Linked DNA regions of Homo sapiens: regions 1, 2, 3, 4, 5 and 6 are each linked to region 7. The links are contacts of gene promoters, found by promoter capture Hi-C in blood cells and fetal thymus (Javierre and others, 2016). All regions are on one chromosome and are shown on one strand. The core of a region is centred on a gene start or on the middle of the fragment in contact, and the rest is flanking DNA. Distances in the headings are between cores, read along the strand shown. Region 1 has its middle 670 kb from the start of CSMD3. Region 2 has its middle 680 kb from the start of CSMD3. Region 3 overlaps CSMD3 (CUB and Sushi multiple domains 3). Region 4 overlaps CSMD3 (CUB and Sushi multiple domains 3). Region 5 has its middle 640 kb from the start of CSMD3. Region 6 overlaps CSMD3 (CUB and Sushi multiple domains 3). Region 7 holds the start of CSMD3 (CUB and Sushi multiple domains 3).

Evidence for each region. The method cuts DNA at HindIII sites, captures the fragments that hold promoters and counts their contacts. A CHiCAGO score of 5 or more calls a contact.
Region 1: a contact is called between a fragment that was not itself captured here and the fragment with the promoter of CSMD3 in region 7, in 1 of 17 cell types (megakaryocytes). The highest score is 5.6, in megakaryocytes.
Region 2: a fragment that was not itself captured here is called in contact with the fragment with the promoter of CSMD3 in region 7 in 1 of 17 cell types (megakaryocytes); the score reaches 5.2 in megakaryocytes.
Region 3: a fragment that was not itself captured here is called in contact with the fragment with the promoter of CSMD3 in region 7 in 1 of 17 cell types (M2 macrophages); the score reaches 5.3 in M2 macrophages.
Region 4: a fragment that was not itself captured here is called in contact with the fragment with the promoter of CSMD3 in region 7 in 7 of 17 cell types (M0 macrophages, M1 macrophages, M2 macrophages and 4 more); the score reaches 10.9 in M0 macrophages.
Region 5: a contact is called between a fragment that was not itself captured here and the fragment with the promoter of CSMD3 in region 7, in 1 of 17 cell types (megakaryocytes). The highest score is 5.0, in megakaryocytes.
Region 6: a fragment that was not itself captured here is called in contact with the fragment with the promoter of CSMD3 in region 7 in 8 of 17 cell types (M2 macrophages, megakaryocytes, M1 macrophages and 5 more); the score reaches 24.4 in M2 macrophages.

The regions. Positions count from the first base shown.
Region 1 is chr8:114,100,218-114,103,902 of GRCh38, reverse strand. No RefSeq gene overlaps it. Among named protein-coding and RNA genes, the nearest start is that of CSMD3, 670 kb to the right of the region's middle. The HindIII fragment of the contact is 633 bases long and covers 1,723-2,355 here.
Region 2 is chr8:114,116,909-114,120,711 of GRCh38, reverse strand. No RefSeq gene overlaps it. Among named protein-coding and RNA genes, the nearest start is that of CSMD3, 680 kb to the right of the region's middle. The HindIII fragment of the contact is 2,361 bases long and covers 809-3,169 here.
Region 3 is chr8:112,743,382-112,747,135 of GRCh38, reverse strand. The region is part of intron 13 of CSMD3 (CUB and Sushi multiple domains 3); the gene reads left to right. Among named protein-coding and RNA genes, the nearest start is that of MIR2053, 100 kb to the right of the region's middle. The HindIII fragment of the contact is 2,433 bases long and covers 1,078-3,510 here.
Region 4 is chr8:112,776,053-112,779,790 of GRCh38, reverse strand. All of the region lies in intron 13 of CSMD3 (CUB and Sushi multiple domains 3), which reads left to right. Among named protein-coding and RNA genes, the nearest start is that of MIR2053, 130 kb to the right of the region's middle. The HindIII fragment of the contact is 959 bases long and covers 1,835-2,793 here.
Region 5 is chr8:114,078,213-114,082,293 of GRCh38, reverse strand. No RefSeq gene overlaps it. Among named protein-coding and RNA genes, the nearest start is that of CSMD3, 640 kb to the right of the region's middle. The HindIII fragment of the contact is 732 bases long and covers 1,133-1,864 here.
Region 6 is chr8:112,759,636-112,763,918 of GRCh38, reverse strand. The region is part of intron 13 of CSMD3 (CUB and Sushi multiple domains 3); the gene reads left to right. Among named protein-coding and RNA genes, the nearest start is that of MIR2053, 120 kb to the right of the region's middle. The HindIII fragment of the contact is 4,178 bases long and covers 638-4,283 here.
Region 7 is chr8:113,434,623-113,438,324 of GRCh38, reverse strand. It overlaps CSMD3 (CUB and Sushi multiple domains 3), which reads left to right and starts at 1,386. Exons shown (of 71, transcript NM_198123.2): 1 at 1,386-1,648. The coding sequence starts at 1,471. RefSeq lists enhancers at 1-452, 465-514, 2,292-2,802. The HindIII fragment of the contact is 6,354 bases long and covers 1-3,076 here.

The sequences.
Region 1 (3,685 bases), core at 790-3,289, 660 kb before region 7:
TTTTGTAGCTTGAGAATTTGCTGAAGTTGCTTATCAGCTTAAGAAGCTTTGGGGCTGAGACAATGGGGTTTTCTAGATACAGGATCATGTCATCTGCGAACAAAGATAATTTGACTTCCTTTCTTCCTATTTGAATACCCTTTATTTCTTTCTCTTGCCTGATTGCCCTGTCCAAAACTTCTGATACTATGTTGAAGAGGATTGGTGAGAGAAGTTATACTTGTCTTGTGCTGGTTTGCAAGGCGAATGCTTCCAAATTTTGCCCATTCAGTCTGATATTGGCTGTGTTTGTCATATATGGCTGTTATTATTTTAAGGTATGTTCCTTGATACTTAGTTCATTGAGAATTTTTAACATGAAGGGATGTTGGATTTTACTGAAGGCCATTTCTTTGTCTATTGAGATAATCATGTGGTTTTTGTCTTTACTTCTGTTTATGTGATGAATTACATTTATTGATTTGCATATGTTGAACCAACTTACATCCCAGAAATGAAACCGACTTGATCGTGGTGGTTAAGATTTTGATATGCTGCTGGATTCAGTTGGGCAGTATTTTATTGAGAATTTTTGCGTTGATGTTCATTGGCCTGAAGTTTGTGTTTTTGTTGTTGTATTTCTGCCAGGTTTTGGTATCAGCATGATGGTGGCCTAATGAAATGAGTTAGGGAGGAGTCCCTCCTTTTAAATTTTTTGCAACAATTTTAGTAGAATTCCACCTTGACTTTTCTATTTGTATCATAGAATAAAGTGATTTTAATCAAAAGCGTCTAAGGCTATAAAGTTATTCACAAACACAACTGGAAGCTGATGGTAGGGGTTGTAATTAAAATGCTCTTTAACCACTTTGTGAACACACTATTCTTGTTTTATTTTCTTTTATCTGCATTAAAACACTACATATTATTATTATTATTTGCATAGGTTATTGTATTATGATGGTAGCCCACAATAGACACCAGTGTAAACTGCCACATGATGAATGACTCTGTGCCCACCCCAACTCTTTTCTTTTTTTAAGCAGTAATTATAAGAGGAGACAGATGGCAAAAATTGGAAAGTGAATATTGTCACATGATGGAAAATATATAATGAAATCAGTTTCTCAATCTTATAAAACCTGAAGCTCATTTTGAGCTCCACCTCTAGTTTGAAGAGGTGCCGCATTTAGAAATGAACTACATTTCTCTTTCTTTTCTGCCTTTTGAAGGGAGAGGAGTCACTGTTCATCTATGACAACATAATTAATTTTATATTGCAATTACTTTTAAATGATGACAGCTATCGGTAGCCTGAAACAGCTTCAAAAGTGCTTTTTAGCTATATTTCTACTTAGCTTATCATTGTAAGGCTTCCAGTTGTATGATACCCCCTCCCAAAAATGAGATGCTTTAAAATTCAAGTGTCGAAAATAAAACAAGTAACATCAGTTTCACAAAGATAAGATGTAATTAACTTTATTGTGAGTCAGTCAAATCTGGGCATAACTGTAAACATTTTATAAACTCTGCTAACTACTTGCCATGTAAAGATAGCTTATGCTTTGAATAGTCTTCCTGATGGACTCATACCCTTATCAAATTAGCTTATAATTAAATCAAACTGTACTAAATGGTTATATAACCTTTTGGATACAATTAATACAAGAAGACTATTAAAAAACATATCCCTGGGGCTAGAGTTAGCCTTCAATATTTAGCCATGTTATTTAGAGCAAAGCTTTTAAATCCCAGTGTCAATTAGCCAACATTTCTGACATGTTTTAGACAGTAATTTCCTATTTATTTACTTCTAGAGATCACCACAATTTTGCTTAGATTATACTTTTATACTTCTGTTTTTTGGGTCTTGGGTTGTGATTCAAAAATGCCATAATTAGTCATAATAGCAAATTTTAAAACTGACATTTTTATTTCAAGTAAAACATAATTAATATCACTTCTAATATTGCTTATGATAGAGAAGCATAAAGTCTGTATTTTTCACAAAATTAATGAGAAGTGAAATAAATCTGTTATCAGCCATAAATCTGTAAATTTTTTTCACTTTATTTAAGCCTTGAATGCCAATTCAGCTACTTCTTATGCCATTAAATTTAATCATAAGAATGCTAACAAAGTTCAGCCCCATCAAAAGTTTAAACTTGATACTCTTTAGTCCTTTATTATTCAAATAAATTTCCTAACAAACTCATTCCTTCAAAAAGTGCCTCACAAAAGAATATGAAGTTTAAAAAAATACAGAAATATATTATATAGCAAATCTGTCTCCATTCACAGAATTCAGATTCATCCATATGGTGAATTATGGTGTATGCTCAAATATGCTTTTAATTGAAGAAAAAGCCTAAAGCTTTCACAAAGACTGCAGTATATCAATTTTATCACTGTAATACATCACAGAATAGGTTTGTTTTCATTCTTTATCCTTGGGTTATAGGAACCCTGTCTCTCTATTGACATATGGTGGCACATAATCTTCATAGACTTTCTTCTACTTTCCTTCTTTTGTAAGCCATTTTAAATGTTTCTTTCTACATCACTAGATGTAGTAAATATTCAGTCTATTATTTCTCCATAAAATTGTAAAGTATATATCAGTTTAATTATACTTGATTACATGCATTTATAATATATTCAATATATAAACTCTATACGTATGTATAATATATTGATCACATATCTGTGTGTGCATATGTTCATAAATTACCATATTGATTCAAAAAGGAGCCACCTAATATTATAACTGTAAAAACGATTCTATTTATATATAGGCAGTGGCTACAATTCTCCATACTTTTACATTTTTACATTATTCTAAAATGCAAGTTACTAAAAATGATAAATATTGGAATATTATCTTTTTTCTATTATTTGCTTTTAATATATTCATCTAGGAACTGTTCTACTATACTTCATTGAAGGGATTCCTCCATTTATAAGTCCTTCCTCCAATTTTTAAGACCTCCCCTAGATATTTTAAAAACTATTAGATCTACTAAATGTCCAATAATTTCATATATGGGTCTGAGGATCCCAGATCTTTTTACACTAAAAAAGAATATTATAGCACATTATAAACATTATAAACTAATAATTACTGGTTTAGTTTTTAATAACAAACTGTAAAAGGACTCTGTGAAAGAATTCTGTTTCTACATGTCTTAAATCTGGTAGGATGTCCACAAAACCTCAACATCTCTAATTAGTGACATTGGATTAATTTTTGTCTGCATGAGATACACTCAAGATAAGTACTAAAAATGTCCTAGACTTCCCTTATTTATAGATCATCACAATGTTTGTAAGCACATTAAAATATTTTATAAGTCATTGTATAGAGATACAGTCCCTGATAAAATACAGATGGAGGAACTTTATAATAATTTAAAAAATAGATAACAGATAAACATTGGGAAGACGCTGTATGTATTTATTCCCAGTGATTATATGTTTTGTAAACTGATTAAACACATGGGGCAGGGAAAACTGAGAGAGGAGAACTTGCTTATTCATTCCTTTGAACTCCTTTATATTCGAGACCATTAGGTCTAATGGATTTGAAATTCCATGCTTATTTTTTAAGTGAAGGCCTTGTGACACACAGTAGTTTGCAGAGATTGCAGAAGATTTACAAAAATAAATGTATAAATCTAATTCAACCACAGCATTCATTATGCATTCC
Region 2 (3,803 bases), core at 740-3,239, 680 kb before region 7:
CCATTATTTATTTAAACTTCAGCTTTATTGTTCAAATTATTATTTATTTAACTTTGAAATCACTTAGGTAACTTGAATTTCTGTATACAATAAACAACCCCTAAATTACAATGTTTTTGAATTTCTTTGTTATACATAGGCCTTTAGAAAAAATGAAGAATAAGCAAAAATTATAATCACTTTTGTTACTTTATTTCTGTAACTATCATTGCTTTAGGTTTATCTGTTTCTTGGAATGTTTTCTTCTTCTATTCCTAGTTTATTCCTAAAACATACACTCTTCAGCTTCATTTATTTTCTTCTAATCTGCAGTATGTTCTGGAACGAGCAAGTCTTTCTCTTAAAAAAGCAGAGCTTGCAGTGTTACCTTTATATATAATAAATGTAAAACATATTCATTGTGAAATATTATGTAATAATGTAAGGAGAAAATATAGCAACTATATATACACACAGATGCATACACACAAAACCCACAAATATGCATCTATCAATTTCAATCATATTGCATATAAGTATGCATAGTATTATGTCTTAGTTTTCTTCTTAACTGTGTTTTGCAACTTTCTTTCATGTCATTGTAACTTATTCCTATACAATTTATAATGGTTGAATATTTTATCACATTGTCACATTGTACTTGATTCAATCCATCTTATTATTAAATCAGTACTTGCTCATGAATCTTTCTTTCCATGTCTGATAGTGTCTTTGGTTGAATTCCTAGATAAAATTGTTAGTGAACCATAATAAATACTTTTAACGTTTTAAAATACTTCTAAGTTAATGTTTCTAAAAAGACTAAGCTTCAAATTTTTTAAAATAATATATCATTTTGCTTGTATAATTCTTACAGGCATGAAGTATTAGGAGCAGCTTTGTCAATTTTACAAGACAGATATGATATTTATTTGAATATAACATTAATGCTGATAACAATTTTTCATAGTTATTAGTATTTGCATTTCTTCTGCTATTAATAACCTATTCACCACTTTCTGCCTCTTTTGGGTATTATAACTTCTTTATTTCTGTTCCATTTATCTGTCATTTCTTGCACTACTAACATTTTAATGATTATAGATGTAAAGTATAATTGTCATCTTATAGTGTGTACTATACTATACAGTGTGTATACTACAGTGGATTTTTCATTTTATAATAATACTCTTAATTATCAAATTTCTCACAGAATATTAATATCACTTTAATTAAAATAATCCTACTGAAGTTTGTTTTAATATCATTAAATCTGCATCATTTTAAAATGTGTTCTATACGCCACACATCACTGGTTTCCTTGGAGTATGGAAAATAGCCTGCAAATGTTTTGAAATTTTCAGCAGAAGAAGACAGTGGAATACATTTTTCATTTATATGTTGAACATATTACATTTAATATTAATTATTATTTTTAGAGAAATCACTCTAAATAATGATTAGCATAGTCTTAAAAGTTGCAGATGAGGACTGTGGTGTTGCTTTCAGCTGACTAATTCATGAAGGAGGTTACAGTACTACTATAGGTTCTCCATTACAAAGGACTTACTAGAGATAAAATGGAATTTTCTTGAAAGTGAATCCAAAGGCCACTTTATCTAGAGAGAAGAGAAGGTGGTCAAATTTTTGAAATATACAGTGAAAATTGTGAATATGATTAAAGCATTAAGACTAATGGCAAATCCTCTTTGGTTCATGAGAAAAAAAATTCATGGGCACAGAACTTAAGAATCTGATTTACTGATATTGCTTGTCCTCTGCTAAGTGAGAATATACTCAAACAAAATTTTGAAAATAGAAATGGGTTTTAAAAATTAATTTATTTGTGATTCAAAGGAGGCTGAAGACTATTTCTGTAAAGTGTCTTGCTCAAGTGAATTTAGCACTTGAGATAGTGAACTGAAAATATTCAGTATCTTAAATATTTTTACCGTTTCACTTCATAGCTTTAAATTCATTTAATTTTAACATAAAATCACGGTATTTTAGAAAATGGCTCAAGTGGTTGACAATTTTTCAACATTTGAAAGTTCTCTTTATTTATTGCAGAGAAAAATTAATGGCATATTATTGGACAAATTTCAAAAAGAAAAATGCTAATATAACCAAAATTGAATTAGTGATTTTTTCACTAAAAGTATATAATTTTTAAGGTTTGTTTACTTAAACACAAACTTTATAATATTCATCTCTATTTTATCTGAATATCAATATTATTATATGTTTCCTTGCTACCATTTATAATGCCACATAAATGCTAGACTTTTCTAACTTAGTGTGAAAGAGAATAAGACAAAATATGAAAAAAGTTATATATTTTAAAAAGCACAAAAAGTTGATCAGAACACTCATCTAAAGCCATTTTTACTGAATGGATATTTAAATAGTTTTATTTTAACATTCACTAAACTTTATGTGACGTTCATGAAACTGCATGTTTTAATTTTGTGATAAATATATTGCCTAAATAATTTTGCTATTATTTTTATCAGATTTGATTCTGAAATCATGCACCCTAGAGAAGATTCTGAAACATAGGTTCATGTACATGAGGCTTATTGGGAAATGCTTGATAACAAAATCTGGAGAATAGGGTGGGAAACAAGGTGGGGCAGACAGAGAAATTGAACGCTGGTACAGTTGCAAAAAAGACTTGGCCAACCCCACAGAAAGTTCTGGAGCTGAGATAGTCTTTCAAAGTTCTCTCAAATTCAAGTAATTCGGCCAAGCATTCTTATCCTACTGTACCCTCCCCTGCTTCTATTCATTAATTGGATGTGGGCTGCCTCTGATGATCAAATTCTTCTGATGGCTACTCAATTATAACTGACTTAAAAAAGAAAGCAAAAGTATGACAGAATAAAATTTTTGTATTTCATCTTATCATTTAAAATAATGAATTAAAATACACTATAAAGCAAATTTAAATGATAATTGGTAGGTCTACTTTTGAACTAATTGTGGACTTCTAATTATTCTACTTTTTCTGAGCATCTACTAAAGAGAAAGAGATCCTTTTATAGGATTCAGAAAAGTTTTGTTAAGAGTTAGCATTTGTTTTAATTCTTAAAAAATGAAGAAAGTTTTGAGAGGCGGAGGTGAACCATCTACATCATTCCAGGCAGAGTGAAGTGCATTACAAAGAAATGGAATGCCAAAGTGCAAAGCTTTTTTTGGAAACGATGATTATCTCAACTTGATGAAACATCGAGCCTGTGAACACACATAGTGTTTGATTTTTAGAAAATTAGATTGTTCAGTATTTCAGATGTCAGCCTGTCTCTGTACTCACATCTTGGGGGCATAAAGAAGACGACGCTGTAATGATACTATTGCCAAACGTTACTGTTTCTTCTCTTGCTCTCAGGCTCTACAGCAAGCTCACCAATGGTCCTATCTATTCTAGCTCCAAAATATATTTCCAACCTTACCACTTCTCACCACTTCTACTACGACACACATAAACCTAGCCGTCATCTTGCATCATCTGCACTGTGGCCGTAACCTCCAAACAGGACTTATTAGTATAGCTTTTACCTCCACAGAATCTACTCTCCAGATAGCAGGCAAAACTATCTTTTAAAATATATATTAGATGATTTCACTCTTTATTTTGATGGCTTCCAGTGATTTTCCAGGACAGCAAGAGTAAACATCAAAATAATGACCATGAACTACAATGCCAGATGGGATATGTTTCCTGCCTACCTTTTAGATCTTGTATCTTAAACTCATTTCTCTTGCTCAGTAATCTTCCCAACAACTTAAAATTTCCAGATTTGTTATATTTGGGGCTTTTGTTG
Region 3 (3,754 bases), core at 1,045-3,544, 690 kb after region 7:
AATGAGAGAACATTATGGGAATAATGAACTAGAGGAAAGAGTAGAATTATGATATGGAAATTTTAAGGGTAGTACCTTTCTTGGAAATGACACAGTCTTGTATTTGAGCATGTAAATGAATGCCTGCGATGGAGTAAAATAAAATTTCCTTGGAAATGAGGAGGTCAAGTAAAAAGTTCTTGGGTAGAATGTCTACATGAATTTTGAAATCAACAGAAAGAAAAATAGTGAATAGAGACTTGTTAATGACAACATGAAGAGGTAGCTAGTGGTAGAAGCAAAGGAATTTCTATCCTTCCAAGTCTTTTTCTCTCTCCTTCCACTCCTAGGACAGCATGTTGAATTATATTGTCAGATACAAATGCTGGAGGTGGTTGCTACAGGGGTTGCCTTTAGGCAACTTTTCTTTATAGTCATGCTCACAAAAGACCCTAAGGCAGTAGAATGCAAAATATACAAATGTAATAATAGAGATAATTCAAAAATAAATAATATATATAACTATTCTATTATTAATAAAACAGCCATAAAGAAAGAGGTACTAATTACATCAGACAAGTTCAGTGTAAGAAAGAACAACACTATATATTTTAAGGAGAGAGGATTTTAATAAAGCATATTAGGTGCTTTCAAATTTGTAGACAGGCTGGAAGAGCAAGCTGGAAGATGGTCCTCCAGGGATGAGTCACAGAATACCACATGGGGAGCTACTGACTCTATCACAATCAAGAAGGTAGACAATTAAGTGCTGTCTGAAATCACTAAGAGCAAAGACACACCACTCACTATAGCTAAGATCTAGGGACCAAGAAACCAAGACCAGGAAGCTACTTCCATTTAAAGTGCTTTTCTAACACCAGTGGAGCAGAACAGTTATTGCAGTAATAATGCTGGCAAAGAGAGGGGTGAACTCCTATCTCTACAGTCTTACTTGTCAACAGAAAAAAATAGCCAAAAGCGTCAGGAGATTGTTCTCTTATTTATTCCAAATATCTGGAGGCTACATCTAATTGGAATAATCTGATTAGCATATAAAACTATAGTTGCAAGGGAATCTGATAAATACAGTTTTAAGCTTTATGAGTTTCCCATACTGAAAAGGTGAGTTCAAAGTTTGTGGGAATAACTGTCAACTGCCGTTTGATCATAACACTGCCCATCGATTTATTTTCCCTGCAAAAAAACAAAATAATTACCTGTATTAAGAAAAAAAATTAGCAAAATGTTTCTTTAGTTCTTATTTCCTCCCTGTTTTTCTTCTGTGATTTTGGAAATAAACATGTTCTTAGAAGTTATGTTAGACATTTAAAGTATCTATTATAAAATAAATACCCTACATTATCTAGGGGCATTTTGTATTAGTAAGCATTATAGTCATATTTCCTAAGGACTCTAAACTTTTTCAGTAGTATATAAAAATATTTGAAAATTATAAAAAATAAAAACAACTCCAAAAACAAAAAAAAGAAACTTAGAATTGACATTAGTAAATTTTTGCATGAATATCCACACAAACTCATTTTATAACTTCATTAATTGCTGAATTTAATATTCAGTAAAAGTTTATTACTATGAAATTAATATGCTGGGTAACTTTATCAACCAAGCATTTCTGAGTATGCATAATAATTTTACAGAAAGCATAGCCAATTATAAGTAAATTGTACAGTAGTAAAAGACCAAAACAATATACAAACCCATTTACTTATTTTTTTACATTTGAAAAAATACTTAAAATATATTATTTTGCATTATTTTTATAATTTGGAACATATGATATATAGTAGAAACTATTTTTTCTCTTGTTTGATATGATATGGGGTGCATTCTTCAAAAGGAAGAAAACCTAGGAACTACACAAGTTTTCAGTGAGCCCTCCCAACATGATATATTTTTCTCTCAATTACAACTTACTATAACTACCTGGACTCTTGAGAAAACACTCAACAGTGTTAAGTACACACTGTCACAGTTATTCCCACTCTCACTTCCTAAGGGTACTATCAAATTGTACCAATTTACAATTCACCAGTTTGTTTCAGGTCTGTTTTGCAGCAGCTGACCACGCTTACCTGTATCATAACTGTGCTTCATTTTGCACTAACTACGTGCACACCCCCGTTTGTCCCCTCAAACACATCATCTTCAGAGTTATATTTGTAAATCAGATATGTGACCAAGTCATTTCCCTGCTTAAGAACCTTAAATAGGTTTACAGTGTGCTCAAGATAAAGCTGGAGCTTCTTAATTTGACCGCCGAATCATCTTCTCTAGCCAGACCAGTCTGCACAGGTTACCTGCAACACATCTTGCCCATTGCTGTCTCTTATCTTTGTTTGTAATGCTATTTGCACTTGGAAAGCTGTCTCATTTCTTGTTTAGCTGACTTTTCTTCATTCTCTAAATCACCCAGATCTGTGAGGTTTTATTTTGTCACCTACGCCCAAAGTCGTCTCTTCATTTTATTTAATAATTAAAAATAAATAACTGCCTAAATAAGAAAGAAAAATAGAAAAAAAAATCTCTATATTAAGGACAGAGTTGTTTTCTCCCTTTCAGTACTCCATTTGAAACCATGACTTACTGTCATACAATTTATAAATAATTACAATCATTTAATCTATAAAATAGGTATTTTATATTAGTAAATGTGATTACTGAAAGATAAATACTGTATTTTAAACACAAAAAAAGTCTTCCTATGTTTTTCCCAAGGAAATAAAAGTTAAAAATGAGAAATAATTTCAATTACTTATTTCAAATCAGTACTGTTCTAATATCTATGCATTAAACTGTTACATCCAGAAATGGCATGGGAATTATGTTTTGAGAGTAAGGCATCATTCTTTAAGATCTGATGATCTCTGTAAACTTCTTTCTGATGTAGAAGTTCTTAGATTTAGTTTAGGCTCTCAATGACATTCTTTCAACAGTAATCCTTCAATATAACAGAGACAGAGCTTGCTGTGGTATGGACAAATTGTTGCAGTACATTTAATACTCTGAAATTTCCAGAAGTACATCTGAGACAATTTTTTTAAATGTTCATTCCTTTTTAGTTCTGTCTTTTTTTATATGACAACCTTTTCATAAAAATTATATTTAGTATGCTGCATATAATAACATTGCCTAACAGACCATTTCATAGATTTAAGGTTCTCTTCAGGAAATAATTTTACCTGGCGGTTATATCAGATTTGCTTGCTTGTACATCTGTTTATCTTATCTTGTTTAATCATATGTTTTTAATGAAATATCCTGGCACCAGTGAGAGGCAATTGTCTTACTTGGCATATTCCATGAGGTATGCAAAATTGAACCAGGTGTTTATCAGAACGATTTTATTTATATGATGCAAGTATTTAAAAGAAAAAGCACATGGTAAAAACTATTTTCCCTTTTAAAGAAACACATTTTAAAAATCCAGTTTATATCTTAAATGTTAAATGAAATTTCACATTACTAGAGAGGCAATTCTGTCTTCTCTAAAAATCAGAAAAAGAGAAAGCTTTGCTATATATTAAAAATTATAATAATATCTATTTTGGTATTTCCCAAAGGATTTTTTTAAGTTTTTGTATACATATACATAATCACAAGAATCACAAGGAAATATCCATCCCGATGGCTGAGATGTTATTAGGCTTTTTTCCTTGTTGAAGACTGCCTTAATCCATAGCGTTATTTAGAAATTAAAAGGAATGATTCATCATTAAGACTGATATGCTCTTGCTATTAATTAAAACATATGAGA
Region 4 (3,738 bases), core at 1,065-3,564, 660 kb after region 7:
TCACATGAGAAAGAAATCTTGATAATTTTCATTCAGAATTTTAGAATAAAATTTAGAATTTAGAATTTTAGAATAGGGCTGATCTGACTACATGCAAAGAGGTACTTATTTATATGAATAAGTCATTTTCTAAATATGGCATTGCATCATTTGATGGACACTTTGATGGTGCTGACCATCCCAAATTCAATAGCTTAACACAACTATTTTTTTCACAACTCTGTGATGGGCTGAAGATGGCTGAATTTTGAATTTAAAGGCTGAATTTTGACCCATGAATTATTCATTCTCCTTGGTCCAGTAGGCAAAGCCATGCATGGTCTTTTTCTGACAAGGGAAAAAAGTTCATAGGCTAAAATTTTAATTGTACAACTATTTTTAAAGCTCTACTTGCATTTTTTTCCTAAAATCTATTGGTTAAATCAAACACATTGTCAAGCTCAGATTTAAGGGACAGGAAAGTAGATTCTGTCCTCAAATATGAGGGAAGAGGGTGAATCTTTTAAAATAATAATATAGTTTGCCACAAAGATTAACCCACATATTAATGAAAAACTTTGAGCTACTGCTGAGGTCAATGTTAAATACATATACACACACACACACACGCAAACACACACACACACACATCTTTGCAAAATACAGTGTCAAGATAATGAGAAGACAAGTTACAGACTAATAGAAAATCTTTGCAAAGACACATCTTATAAAAAACTGCTATCCAAAATACAAAATGAGTGCCTAAAATTCAACAATAAGAAAATGACCAACCTTATTTAAAAAAATGGGCAAATTATATGAACAGACTGGAAAAAGATACACAGATGGCAATTAAACATATGAAAATATGTTCAACATCATATGTCATTAGGGAATTGCAAATTAAAACAATGAGATAGTACTAGCTACCTATTAAAATGGCCCAGATCCAGGACACTGATGGCAACAAATCTTGGTGATGATGTGGAGCAATAGAAATTCTGTTTCATTGCTGGTGGAAATGCAAAATGGTATAGCCATTTTGAGAGATAGTTTGGTAGTTTCTTACAAAACTAAACATACTCTTACCATAAAATCCAGCAGTCATGCTCCTTGAAATTTACGCAAATGAACTCAAAACTTATGTCCACACAAATACCTGCAAATGGAGGTTTACAGCAGCTTTATCCATATTTGTCAATTTGGAAGCAACCAGAATGTCTTTCAGTAGGTGAATGGATAAATAAACTATGGCGCTAAAAAGAAATGATCTATCAAGCCATGAAAAGACATGGAGGATACTTAGAAGCATTTTACTAAGTGAAAGAAATCAATCTGAGAAGTCTACATACTATATGATTTCAACTATATGATGTTCTGGAAAAGGCAATTGAGACAATAAAATTATCAGTGGTTTCCAGGGATTAGGTGGGAGCGAGAGAGATTAAGCAGAGCAAAGAGGATTTTTAGGTCAGTAAAGCTATGATACATAATATGACAATAGTAGATACATGCCATCATACTTTTCAAAACCCACAGAATATACAACACCAAGCCTGAATTCTAATGTGAACTACGGACTTTGGGTGATAATGATGTGTCAGTGTAGTTTCATTAATTTTAACGAATGTACCATAGTAGTGTGGGATGTTGGTAGTTGGGGAGGTTGTACGTGAAGGAGGGCAGGGAGTATATGAAAACTCTGTACTTCCTGTTTAATTTTGCTGCGAACACAAAACTGCTCTAAAAACAAAGATTATTGATTTTTTAAAAAAGTAGTCATTACTACTTCCAAAGTTGTCCACAAATATTTATAAAATGTTTTATTTTGTGTTAGTAGAAGCATTGGAAAGCTTAAGGTGGCTGTTCTCACTGATATATTTAATATGATTTTCTGATTTAGTCTACTACTCAATTTCCATGGCAATGTTTTAGGTTAAAAAAAAGTATCAGGGCATCAGTAAGCAACATATTCTGGCCAGTGCTCTCAAGTGTCATTCATGTTTATTTCAGCTTTCACAACATTGCAGACTACATTAAATATATGTTGGAGGCAAACTTTGACTCAAACTGACTTGAAAAACTCATTCAAAATAATAATGTCTTCATTTTCTGCTTGATATATCCCTAGTAGCGATAAGGAAATGGAATATTGTCTCTGTCTTTTAATTCAGTCGTGGTCACCAAGTCATGGCATTTTCAAAGCAATTCCTCAAATAGAAGAAAATGCATTTTTTGTTTCTTTGAGGAACAATAGAAACTCAAATTGAATTATCTTTGTATAAATATCTTGGCTTACACCTTTTAAAATAATCGTGTTTGAACATACTGGCAATTGTTATGGTTCATAAATAATATCATCAACAACTAATACTTATTAAGAAGTATCTGCATTTAAAGCTGTTAGATACATTAAATAGGCATCCTAAACAGGATGAAAATGCCTTATACAAATAGAAAAATTCAAACAACACAAGCTATAAAATAGAGTATAAAATACAACCAATATTTATTTACATTAAACATACTACTTTTCTTTCCGTGGTTTGTGTTCTGTGAAATTATGTGGGAGAAAAATTTCATATTGCTTTTACTTAAATGAAAGAACCAGACAAAGCCTGGAAAGTTTGCTGAATTTTATCAATAACACGTATTTGTAAATATATTGTGTGCTTATTATTTTTGCTTGTCTTTCATTTTTGGGCACAGCATCTCCAAATTTTGGTCACAAATGATGCATAACCCTCCAGAAATACAGCTTAAAAGAAGAAAATGAAGATGGAAAAATAACATACTAAAAAATGTACAAAAGCTTTTCCCATGCTTAATCATTCTATCCAGAGCCACATTTATGTTTCGGATCCTTTTACAGCAGAGGTTGGGAGGTCAATAAAAATATATGATGAGATTTAAAATAAATTAAATTGTATATTTATTGTTAATCTTTACACACGAGTGAATCAACTAAAATTCCTTACCCAAGGATGTGTTTCTCAAACAGCCTTGATATAGAATTAACATATAGAAACTTCTGAGGGAAATGTAAGGAAACAATATAATGGTCATTGCTTTAGAACTAAAAGACAATTTTAAAAATTAATTCAAATATTCATTAGCATCCAGGAATATGTAATAGGATTTTTGGTCAAGCTCACACTACCTCAAACTTGCTGCTCACAATATGTCTTAAGGCAATTTTTCCAACCCTTTTAGATCTGAAAATAGAAGATTAATGTTCAAGAAAATGGAGAATTGCAAGACACCATAGAAAATATGAGATTTGAAAATCTGACCTTAGTCTAGAAGACAGGATTTAGACAGCAGCATACCAAAAGTAAATGAAAGAAAGTAAATTATATCTTTTTGACACTTCAAATTCTTGTTGCCTAAATCTTAGTCAAGTTGAAGCTTATAAGATGATGATGTATTTTCGTAAGAAAAATAATTTGGTGGATTATTTAGTAGGAAAATTTATGAAGATAATAAAAAAACTGAGAAATATGATTCAATAATGGGGTAAAATACAATAATAATTTTAAAAAGCAACATTGGGTAAGAACCTTATTTTGTTGTATCCACTGAATTTCCTTTCACAATGTAAATTATTATGGTTATTGTGCATATACAGGTGATACGGCTGTTATGTTTCCCATGGTTTAAATAAGGAGTCAATAGGAAAATGTAAATGAGGCTCTATCATTTTCTAAAAGATAAGCTGTCCTCTGAAAAATCTATTTTCTCCTTATGTGGCTTACTTGC
Region 5 (4,081 bases), core at 249-2,748, 640 kb before region 7:
TCCCAAATATTGTTTGATATTATCTATTTTATTAAATGGTTTAACCAGTTTCCATTATATGTATTCTTCTATCACTTGCTTCTGTGCTTCTGCATTATCTATTTGAAATCCACTCATGTCGATGCCCTCATGTTGATGAACCACTTCATTCATTATTACTTCTGAACATTCCTATGTATTCCTTTACATAAAGATGGCATAATTTATTTGTCCATCCCATTGTGGATATGCATTTGGGATGTTTACATATTTTTGCTACTATGAAAATACAGAGCTGAATATTCTTATATCTGACTCTTGGTACACAAGTTCAAAAAATTACCCATTGGCATATATCTTAGATTGAATTGCTTGGTGTAGAAAATGAACATTTAATCTTATGATATAAAATGTTAAATTGTTTTTAACATGGCTAATTCAATATATACTACTAAAAATAATATTACTGTGATCCTATCGTACTACATTCTCACCCATATTTCTTATTGTTAGGCTTTATAATTCACTATAATCTTTAGGAAGGAATATAAAATCATGCTTTGAATTAACATTTCCCTGATTACTAAAAAGGTTGGTCATGACTTCTCTTTATGACAAATTTTGAACATGTTTTGCCCATTTTCTACAGGATTGTTTTACTCTTTTATATGAATTCATAGGGAATATTTTATACATTCCAAATATTAATCCAGTGAATCTTCATTTGGTATTTGAATAAGTGTTTGCAGATTCCGTATTTGCTGATTCCATATTTGCAAATTTGCCTCCTTGCCAAAATTAACTGGTAATGCTACAATCAATATTTGTAGTGCTTTGTGCTCATTAGCAGATATGCACGGAACAGCAAAATATTTGAGTTGCGCTTTGAACATGCACAATCCCAGCTGAGGCAGACCAAGTCGACATTCTGTTTTCAGGTTTGTGCTCTCATACTATAAAGAAGCACTCTCTTCATGGTCTACATAGTGTCATATTTCTCATATTTGTGTGTGTGTGTGTGTGTGTGTGTTTTGCTGGTGATTTCAGCATTGAAAATGCCCCCTAAGCATAGTAATTAAGTGCTGTCTAGTGTTAGTAAGTGCAAGGAGGTAATGTTGTGCCTTATAGAGAAAATACATGTGTTAAAGAAGCTTTAATTAGGCATGAGTTGTGCAATTGGCCATAAGTTATTGTTAATTAATCAATAATATATATATATTAAGTAAGGTGTTATTAAACAAAATCATACATAAAAGAAGGTTATGCATTGGTCAGTTGATAAAAATGTTGTGACCACAGGCTCACAGGAACCTAATCCTGTATCTCCTCTAGGAGCAATATGTCAGTATTTGTAAAATTAGTGCTCAGGGAGATTTTATAACACTTATTACTGCAGAGAATGAAAATCAACCGTACTTCGTTGGGAATATCTTTGTGGCTTCTCTCCTCATTGCTTTTATAGGATTATGGGAAAGTTAAAATTACAAATTTCTGAATTTGAATTTGAATGAGTGTATCTATTTTCCTCTGTATAGTTTGTAGCTTTATTTCTATGTGGTTTAAGTAATATTTCCTTTCACATGGTCAATTAAAAAAAAAGCTCTCATTTTCTTTCTTAATAGCATTTGTGCATTTCTTAGTCTTACCTTTTAATTGAAGTCTTTAATCAGTGTAAAGTTCATTTTTGTTTGTGGTATAACATAAGGAGTTTTTAGAATTGCAAATATTTGCTGCAAAATGTATTGATTACCACCATTTTTTGAGCTGTCTGATTTTCAAGACCCATTCTGTTATAGATTAAGTACTACATATACAACAAATTGTTCTTATGTTGCGTATTTTCTGTATTTCTGCCCTTCTGCTTATATCATCCTGTCTTAAAGCTTTATATTCAATTTTGATTTTGACAGAAAAAAGTCATTTAAATTTTAAATTCTTTGCAAGTGTCTTGATTATTTGTGACCCTTGTTCTTCCATATTCATTTTAGAATGAGTGTGAGGCCAGGTGTGGTGGTTCATACCTGTAATCCCAGCACTTTGGGAGGCCGAGGCAAGTGGATCACCTGAGGTCAGGAGTTTGAGACCAGCTTGGACAACATGATGAAACCCCATCTCTACTAAAAATACAGAAATTAGCTGGGCGTGGTAGTGGGTGCCTGTAATCCCAACTCCTCAGGAAGCTGGGGCAGGAGAATCGCTTGAACCCAGGAGGCAGATTGCAGTGAGCAGAGATCATGCCACAGCACTCCAGCCTGGGTGACAGAGTGAGACTCTGTCTCACAGAAAAAAAAAAAAAAAGGGGGTGTGAGAAGTCTCTCTCTCTCTCTCTGTCCCTCTCTCTCATACACACACAAACACAGACAAAAACTGTACCTTTTGAAATATGATTTGAAATTGCATTTAATCTATAGATAGACTTGAGGAGAACTGGCATCTATATGATAGACTGCTAATCTATTCTATAATACATCTCACTTTTTTGTAAGTCCCTGTTACATTTTCAATACAATTTTGTACTTTTGTCTATGAAGGCATAATTTTTACCTTCATTTATTCTAAAAAAGTTTACATTTTATTTGCCATTTTTGTTTTTTTGGCTTATATTATTAACTAATAACTAGGGATTTTTACAAATTCTACTTATATAATGATTTTGTAATCAGAAAATATTCTTAATATATTTTCATTGTGTATTTTTGGATTATTTTTATGGTTTTCTCCTCAAGCAATCATGATACCTGCAAAAATTGCCTTTGTTTGTTTTTTCTAATTTGATTTCTTTTCCTGAAGAAGAATGGGTGTCAGGAGCATTCTTGTCTGTTTCCTCATCTTATAGTAACAACTTTCAAAATACACCCTTCAACAGTGTTTCTTTTTTCTAGTTTTATGTGTCTGTCCTTTATTAGCTCAAAATTATCCTTTATTATCTTTTTTATTTTTTTATTGATATCTTGATGCTTAAAAGTTGTGACTATATGTTGAATTTTATTTAGCACTTTTCGTGCACTTATGGAAATCACATGATTTTTCTATTTAATTTGTTAATATCAAAACCTCCGTAATTAAATTACTAATATTACACCAACCTTGCATTCTTGGGATAAACCTTATTTGTCCATAATGTATTATCATATATACACACTGCTGAATGCAGTTTACTAATATTTTATTTATAGTGTTTGCATTCACTTAATAAATGAGGTAGCAATGTCTTTGCCTGAATTTAGTAAAAATATTATCCTAAACTTTTCCCTGGAAGTATTTGTTTAATATTGGATTTTGTGTTTCTTAAAAAATTATTATAAAATCACAGAACATTTATCTGTATTTAGAGTGTTTCCTTTGGTGAAATATTTTTCCATTTATTACAACTTATATTTTAGCTGTGGAAACACTTAAGTTTTCCTTTTTTTTATAATTGAATTTGACATGAATTAGCTTGGATACAAATATTCATATATAAATGCTTACTTTAAAATAAAAGCGCAAAATGCATATAGGCACAACCCTTCTGGCTTAAAGAGTAAATGATGAAGACATAAAATTTCCGTAATTAGAAAGAATATATGCTGACATATTGCCTATAAAACTAAATAAAATTGAATTTTATCACTGAATGTAGCTAATTTGTTCTTATTAGTTGTGCGTGTATGTGTATGTGTGTGTGTGTGTTATTTCTTTTTATTAGAAGGAGATAGTAATGACTATGACTCTCTCATATCCTTCCTTTCTTTTCTTTTTTTTTGGTCCTTTGTTGCCTAGGTTGGAGGCTGGAGTGCAGTGGTACAATCATAGCTCCCTGCAACCTCAAACTCCTGGGCACAAGCAATCTTCCCACCTCAGCCTCCTGAATAGCAGAGACTACAGACAACCAACACGCCTAGCTAATTTTTAATTTTTTTCTAGAGACAGGGTCTTGCTTTTTGCCCAGGCAGTTCTGGAACTCTTGGGCTAAAGCAAACCCCCTACCTCGGCCTCCCAAAGTTCTGGGAGTAAGCCACTGTGACTCACTTATTTTATATTCTTATAGGTTAATACAAGCAACTAAATTTCTTTCCACCTCTAATAGTTCTTCAGGTTTGATTTATATTTGAGGTAGATT
Region 6 (4,283 bases), core at 1,477-3,976, 680 kb after region 7:
ATGGAGCTGCCAGCAAGAAAAAAAAAGCTAAAGAATTTCATGTGTTGCTAGGAAAATTTGAGAAGCATCTATGCTTCATACTCTTGTCCAGAGCCCAATGTGTATTCTTGTTACATTTTGAAAGTAATTTAGTGCCCACATGAAACAGAGGGTTATCCTCTATACCAAAAATTTTGTTTCTGTTCATTTAGAAGCAAAGCTCAATAAATAAAATAAAAAAAAATTATAATAGCAAACTCCATTTTCTTTTAACACGAAGTAACTAACATATAATAATATAGTTTCATAGGAATAAAAATAGAAGTAGAAGCTCTTATTTTTTATCTAGGATGCATTATTTTAGCATCTGGATCTGAATAGTTGTTTAAAATGAAAATGTTCAAATATTCAAATATTATTCAATGTTCAAATGTTCAAATATTATTTGAATAAAATGGTGATGCTATTAAATTTAAAATAATCTTTGTGGTACTAGTAAATATATTAGGATAATTTAAAAAGTAGAAGCATTTACTATCCATTTATCTAACAATATTCTATAGGAGTTTTACTCTGTAATCTATTTCCTTTGCCTCTTTCTTGAGCTCTGTACCAAATTGTTAATATTTTCATCAGGTTCACCACAAATTTTTAAGCTTAACTTGTCCAAGTCAAATTTGTTACATGCACAACAAGATTTTTTCATTTTATCATTTTAATAAGTAATTTTTTGAGCAGATGCCAAAGATTTTTATTTTTTTAACTTGACAAAATATTAGTATTTATCATCTACGACATGATATTTGAAATATATGTACATTGTGGAATGAATGAATGTAGGTAATTAATATATATGTTACCTCACAATGTTATCATTTTTGTGGTGAGAACACTTTAAATCTACTCTCGTAGCATTTTTCTAGAAATATTGTTAATACCTATAGTCATCAGGTACAATACATCGCTTGAACTAATTAGTTCTATCTGACTAAAACTTTGCATCCTTTGACCAATATCTTCCCAACACACCATCGCTAAGATTTCAGCATCTGGTTACCACTATGCTACTCTCTGTTTTTATGAGATCAACTTTTTTAGACTCCACATATGAGTGATATCATGCTGTATTGTCTTTCTGTTATTTCTGGCACTATAGCCCTCTCACTGGTCTCTCTATCCCTATTATATGCTTTCTTCCTTTCAAATTTATCTTTATGAAACACAACTTTGATTATGTAATTTCCTATGTCATTAACAGAAACCAGCCAAAATTCAAACAAACAATAACAACTTGATAACTTTAAGTGGTTTATTTCATGTAATCTATTCTATAATAAAGTACAAACTTCTTCGTATGCCATATTGTATTTTTTACAATCTGCCCACCTCTTATTTTCAGTGTGTTTACCAAGAAAATATAAAACAACAGAGAATCTGGCAATTTAATTAAATAGAAGTCAGGTAAAGAGGTCTACTAAATATCTGTTGCCTAGCTTAAACTATTTAAAAGCATTGACAATTCACTGCCATATCCTCCATCACATTTAACACAGTGCTATGGACAGAACAGCTGCTTGATAATACATGCTTGAATTGAATCATCTAATCCGATATCCTTTATTTATGACAATACATGTACAATGAAAAGTAAAAGAATTTTCCCAATATGGGTAAAGAATCCAAAACTAGAACTTAAGTCTCTGTAAGCAAAGTAACATATCTGCTGCCTCGTTCTCATAATTAAAAAGATGATGCAGATAAATTTTAGTTAAAGACTTCACATAATAAAGTAGTTCTTAGTTCAGAAATAAGTGTGTATGATCAAAGACACAAGAATGCCATCTGGTGGTGACTTACGCAAAGCATCTGTATTAAATGACCTCTACTGCTGGCAGAAGGTAAACCAGAAGGTTGAGGTTCATAATAACAACTTTTCAAGCATGATAGATTATATTAAAGGTGAAAATCTTATAAATATACTATTGTCCACGTAGCTGTCTTTGTGAACTAAAACATTCACCTTCAAGATTTTCGGTTGCAGTAAAGTCAGGATCCACTGGCAATACCACAAGGCCAATTGCATTGATTCCTCATGCACTTACATACACATGCACATACACATACACATATATACTCACATGGATACATATGTATATGGAACATGGTGTATTAATACACTAGCACAACTTGCACAAATGATAAGTAAATAAATATGGGTGCATGCACAACGTTTCACTGATGGAGATGCAAAATAAAAAATGTTTGTATAGTATAGTTTTAAAGACATGAATTAAGCACAGACTTAAAAAAAAACTTTTTGTAAATATGGTTCACAACTTTTTAAACTGCTTTCATACAAATTACAAGAGCCAGAATTTTGGCAAATATTAACATCTTGATTTATGCTTGACTAGGAAAATAGAAGAGGGGTAACACTTATCATGAAAAATATTTACAGGATATTTTATCTCTGGTATAGATAGATCCTAGTAGCTTACTTTGAAAATATTGTGGATCAGACAGTAAAATGAAAAGGAGCTAAAAGAATAAATTAGCTAAGTAATGTAAAAATACATTCTACATACTTTTCTAAAAACATATTCATAATATTGAAGTTAAGAATTTAGCAGTGTATTTCAAACCAAACTAGAATCAACTTTTGAAATAATTCCATTGGTGGTTTCCCTTTTTTTAAATGATAGAGATATTACTGTTCAGTGGCATGTTTAATGAGAAATAAAAGAAACTATGGCATGAAACTACCAGTAACTACATCTCGAGTTGGCTCTATGTTAGTAAATAAATTAGAAAAATTGAAAAGGTAATTTGAAGGTGTCCCATGGAAAATTGGAACAGAGATTGTGTCTGCTTCTGTTGAAAAGGGATATAAGTGAACTCTTAATCAGTCTTCAGCTTTTTTGTCATGGACATTCTTGTACTGACAAAGACCATGTTCGGAGGGCACGATTCTTGAAGCTCATTTGAATAATCACATCTTCTCCAAGGGAATCTTGTCCTTTACTATGACTTTAAAAAGAAGAGTTTCATCCAGAAACAATGCCTCAAAAGACTTTTAACTCAAAGCAGAATGCATTTGAACTAGAAAACCCTTGCAGATCTGCTGGGCTATCCCTCCCCTAAAAGAGCAGCACTGGCCTGGCTGTTCTGCCTCAAGATGAAGATTGGTGCTGGAGATTATGGTGGGAATAAGTCTACCAAAATGTAAAAACACCTTTAATTACAAATTGCTTTTAAAACTCATTGAAGTTCAAGGGGAAATGTGATGATAAGAATATTTTTATTTGTACAATAACTGATTGCATCCAAGCAATGCAATATGCACTGTTAATTTAATGGGCTTCAATTTCCATTAGCAAATATTATAAATCTTTTATTAATGGACGTTTTACATTTATATGTAATAACTTTTCATAGAAGTTATGTAGAAAACCTTTTGGTTATTGATAATTTAACAGTCAGGTTTAGCATGAAGTATAAATGAAGAAAATAATGTGACAACTGACACATTTCATTTTTCATTGAAATATTTTACGTTGTCCCAACAAATAACTGAAATAAAGTGCCTGCTTGAAGTCATCTGGGTCTATCTTTACAAAAGGAAGTGAGAAATCCTTCTTCTCCCCATTCTCCTAGTCCCTGTCAGTGACTGCTCTTGAAGAATAAAAAGTACATATTAATTCATCTCACTTTGCTAAATAAAAAGGTTTCATTCCTAAAAGTTTGATCTAATGTCTGCTTGCTATATTGATTGTTATTTGTCACAATATCTGATTCTGAAAATTTTTAGCAAAATTGATTATAGAATAGTGTTTTGGGAGTGTGGTGGCAATGAATGCAATGGTTAAGAATTTAGTACTGGAGTCACATGGCCTGGTTTATTATTTGGATTCCAATACTTATTAGCATTGTGACCTTGAAGAGTTACTTACCTTGCCTCAGTTTCCAAACCTGGAATATATGATTCATAACAGTATCTCATAGTGTTGTTGAAAGAAGCACATTTAAAGTACTTAGAAAAGTGCCTGACACCCACAACACTAAATAAATAATAGCTATTATTCTGAGAATGGTAATTATGAGACACAATCTTGCTTAAAAATAGGATTTCTTTCAGTCAAGATTATATTCTGACAAAGAAAATTACAGTGAATAGCAAAAAGATCACTAAAAGGCTGCGAAAATAACACATTTTACAATAATAGTTTGAAAATAAAATCAATTTATAGTTTCCAAATTGAATAGCATATGGTACTTGATACATTAATCAAATACAGAATGGGTAT
Region 7 (3,702 bases), core at 137-2,636:
CAACGCGAGCCAAGGGACAAAGCTGGCCAGGGTAATGCTGTGGTGCACGGGACCAAACCCATTATTTGTGCACAGTGCAGGGAGCTGCAAACTCAAGTTGGGCAGTCCTCTAGACTAAGCCTTGTTGATAGACGCTCACGCCCATGATAGCCTGAGGCAGTTAAATGGAGCCACACGCAACAGCAATATCCTGTTTCAGAACTAGCGCTGTGGCACTCCCCACTGCTGAGAGGGGACCAGATTCCCGAAAAGGTCAGATCACCAATCAGTTGCCTAATCTAAGGAACTTGTTCATTGAAAGATTTGGGCCAGGACCGTGGTCGAAAAAAATCAAGGAGCACGACATACTGGTCCCGGGGACACAGCTCCCCTGACACCAAGGGATGGCAAAAACAGGGTCCCTTATACATGCGAAGGAAGAACGGGCGGCTCGGAGACGGCCAGTAGATGGCGCAAGAACTCTTCCCTTGTGCAATCTTAACCCTTGCGTGGTGCATGGGGGAAGCAGATCCAGATGTATAGATACATACATTTTTCGTTTTGAAAGAAACCTCCTATTTACATATTTGGTACCGATTCAGAATTAAGACAAATGGGTTTGTTCTAGATAACTACCACAGATAAAGTAGTTTAACTGCGGCACACACAAACTGAAAAGGGGGTTGGGAGGATGAAAGGGAGAACTATTTGAGGAAACGACATTGACTTCCCTCCCCACCCCACCCCCGCCCAGGCCACGGATGAAATCCGTTTCCCGAATCATAAAAACCCGGTGAAGGGTTTACACGTAGTTATTTGAGTATGTAAATACATGTGTTCAAATACATTCTTTTCCGTGTGAAGGCAGAATTTATTGAGAAAATTCTCTGTGATTTCCTTTTTCAATTAAATCACAGGATAATAAATGGGAGAAGCCTGCCTGAAATATACTGCAACTACAGTAGTAACACATGTCCCATTATAACGACGTGGGCATCGATGGAGCCCGATTCATTATCGTCACGGTTTCCCCAAAAGCAACACAGATCCTCCGATTAAAATATTCCTTTGACATGCTTCTGTATTCGCAGCCTGCAACGGAGAGCTCACTAACATTATTTCTTGGGCTGCTTTTACAGGCAGAATTGATCTATTCGGGGAAAAAAAGCAAGCCCCTTAATTTCAAATATTGTGTGGAGTTTATCAGAGAGCAGAGGTGGGCTTTAAGAGGCTCACTAGTGGTTTCTGGTGGTTGCTATAACGAGCCAGAATTGGGGTAGATTTTGGTGGAGGGGAAAAAACGCACAAGAAAAGACAGAATCCAGAGTAGCGGAGACTTTGTGCCCCCGTTGGAGAGATGGTTGAGTCCTCGTCAAGGTTGCTGTGGTATCCCAGAAACACCATTCACTCCGAGCTGTGACCGCGCACCAACAACAGCAACAACTCCACTGCGCCGGGCTGAGGAGCAGGAATTAGGAGCTCGCGAATAATATGAAAGGGATCCGCAAAGGGGAAAGCCGAGCAAAGGAATCCAAACCCTGGGAGCCTGGCAAGCGAAGATGCGCTAAATGTGGCCGCCTAGACTTCATCCTGATGAAGAAAATGGGGATTAAAAGTGGATTTACGTTTTGGAACCTCGTCTTTTTATTGACGGTGTCTTGTGTGAAAGGTAGGTCTGCTTTGGGGGTCCCCTCCGCTTTGGATGGAGGTGGGCTGACTTGTAGATGGAGAGAGGCTGGCAGCTTACTTTGCAATTTGCACCGATAAAATAATCTGATAATACTAAAGGAGTTGATTCACAGCTCGTTCTCCCCCCCTCAGATAGGAAATGCATTTTGCTTGCCAGATTTGGCGTTCAATGCGGTGATTGAGCTTGTGCTCAATAAATATTCTTGCAGTATGCTCAAACGAATACGTGAGTTGGTTAGTATAGCCTCTAACTAGTGGATATCCAGGCAGAATTCCTCTGCAAGACTTTTCTTAGTGGTGAGGATTACCTTGATTTCTTGTCAGATCACTAGGGCTTGAGGCTTTGGGTGGAATATATATATTAAAGACGCTGGTCTAAATGCTTTTTAACCCTTTCAGGGAAGAAAGTTATCGACGTGCTAGGAATGTGTTGATTTTAAATGCATTAGGGCACAGGGATCTTCCAAGCACTGCCACATCAACATGAATGTCTGCATGCATATGTATGTAAATTGGGCTTCTATGCAATGTTAAATGTAGGGGAGCTTCCCTAGGACCTGTGGTAGAGGTTTGGCAAAAAATGAGGCTTTCGAAGGGTCTGAAATGCCATGAAGTGTAAAGAACCACCTTAAGGGATGAATGAGGTAGGAGGAAAGTCATTAGCTGACGACCAAAAGAAAATCCCCAGCAAGTCTCAGCGTTCAGACAGGTAGAGTGAGTGTCACATGCACAGATAGGGGAGGGGGTAGGTGGGATGTAAAAATGTATTCCCAAGCAGGAAGGCAAGGGACAGTCAGGATCATGGGAAAAAGAGCTGTCCTTAGGGAGAAAATAGATCCATAGCTCTCTTCCACAACTTCTCCGGCACCCTGCTGCCCATTAATTGCTGCAAAGAATACTCAGGAGGTGTTTATGACTCATGCCATCATTTTTTGAACAATCACCTCTCCATACTCATGGCAGCTCGAATAGACGCTATGGATGCCGCTTTCAGTGAAGCTAGTTTCAAATCCCGGGTGTCTGTGTGTCGCGGGGGGGCGGGGGATCGCGGGAAAGGGGGTGCTGTTTTGGCCCAGGCGCGCCAGGGCTGTCAACACAAACTGGACGCTTCTTCCTTTGTAAAGGAGTGCCTCTCTGAACTGCAATCGGGCCGCGTCTCTATGAAACAGTTTATTGTCCAGCTTGCAGCTGGCTGTCCCCCCACGGAAGGCAGCTCATTTGCATTCAGTGGAAATGATAATTCATGTTTTGGGAGGAGGGAGCTGGAGAGGTTACCTTTCCCTCTACTATAACCAATGATGGGTGGCATGTCTAGAATTTTAATTTACATCCCAAAATGCCAGGAAGTCAGTCGCCCCGGTCTCTGTGGCAGCAACTGCCTTGTAATCCCAACCTGCTCCTTGAAGCTTGATTTTTCTTTTCTCTCTGGGGCCTCAGAGCAGCTCTGAGCCGAAAAGCTTGTCCTAAGTGGCACAACTACACTGCCAAATGTACAAAGCACGGCTCAGGTTGCTTACAAGGTTTCTTTGTCGCTGGCTCGACGGGTGAGGAGCCACACATTTATGCTTAGTTCGCCTGCCACTGGGAGTTGGTGGTTAATGGATGGCCCTGGGGCTGCCTGCTAGACGCGCGCTTCGCGTGGGGGAGGCGCGAATAGCCAGCAGCAGCCCTGGCAGAAAAATGTAAGGGTGGCTCCTGTGAGAAGATGACCAGGGTTTAAGTGCGAGTTTTCATGTGATACCTGTTGAGCCAAAACACATTCGGGGGCAGATGAGGGGGAGGGAAGTCTCCGAAGCGGGGCGAGCATTACAGCCTGACTAACGCTGATCCGCGCCGCCTGCAATTAGAGCCCCGGCTGCCCGCACCTACCGTATTTTCCGAATGAGATGCGCCGATAGAAAGGAAAGGCGCGTTAATTTACTTTGGACTGATATAATCGGTTTAGCTTTGGAGATATTGAGAAGGAAGAGTATGTCATAGCCTTCTTTGATCCTGTGCAAAATCAATATTCTACAGACTATACGTAAAAAACAT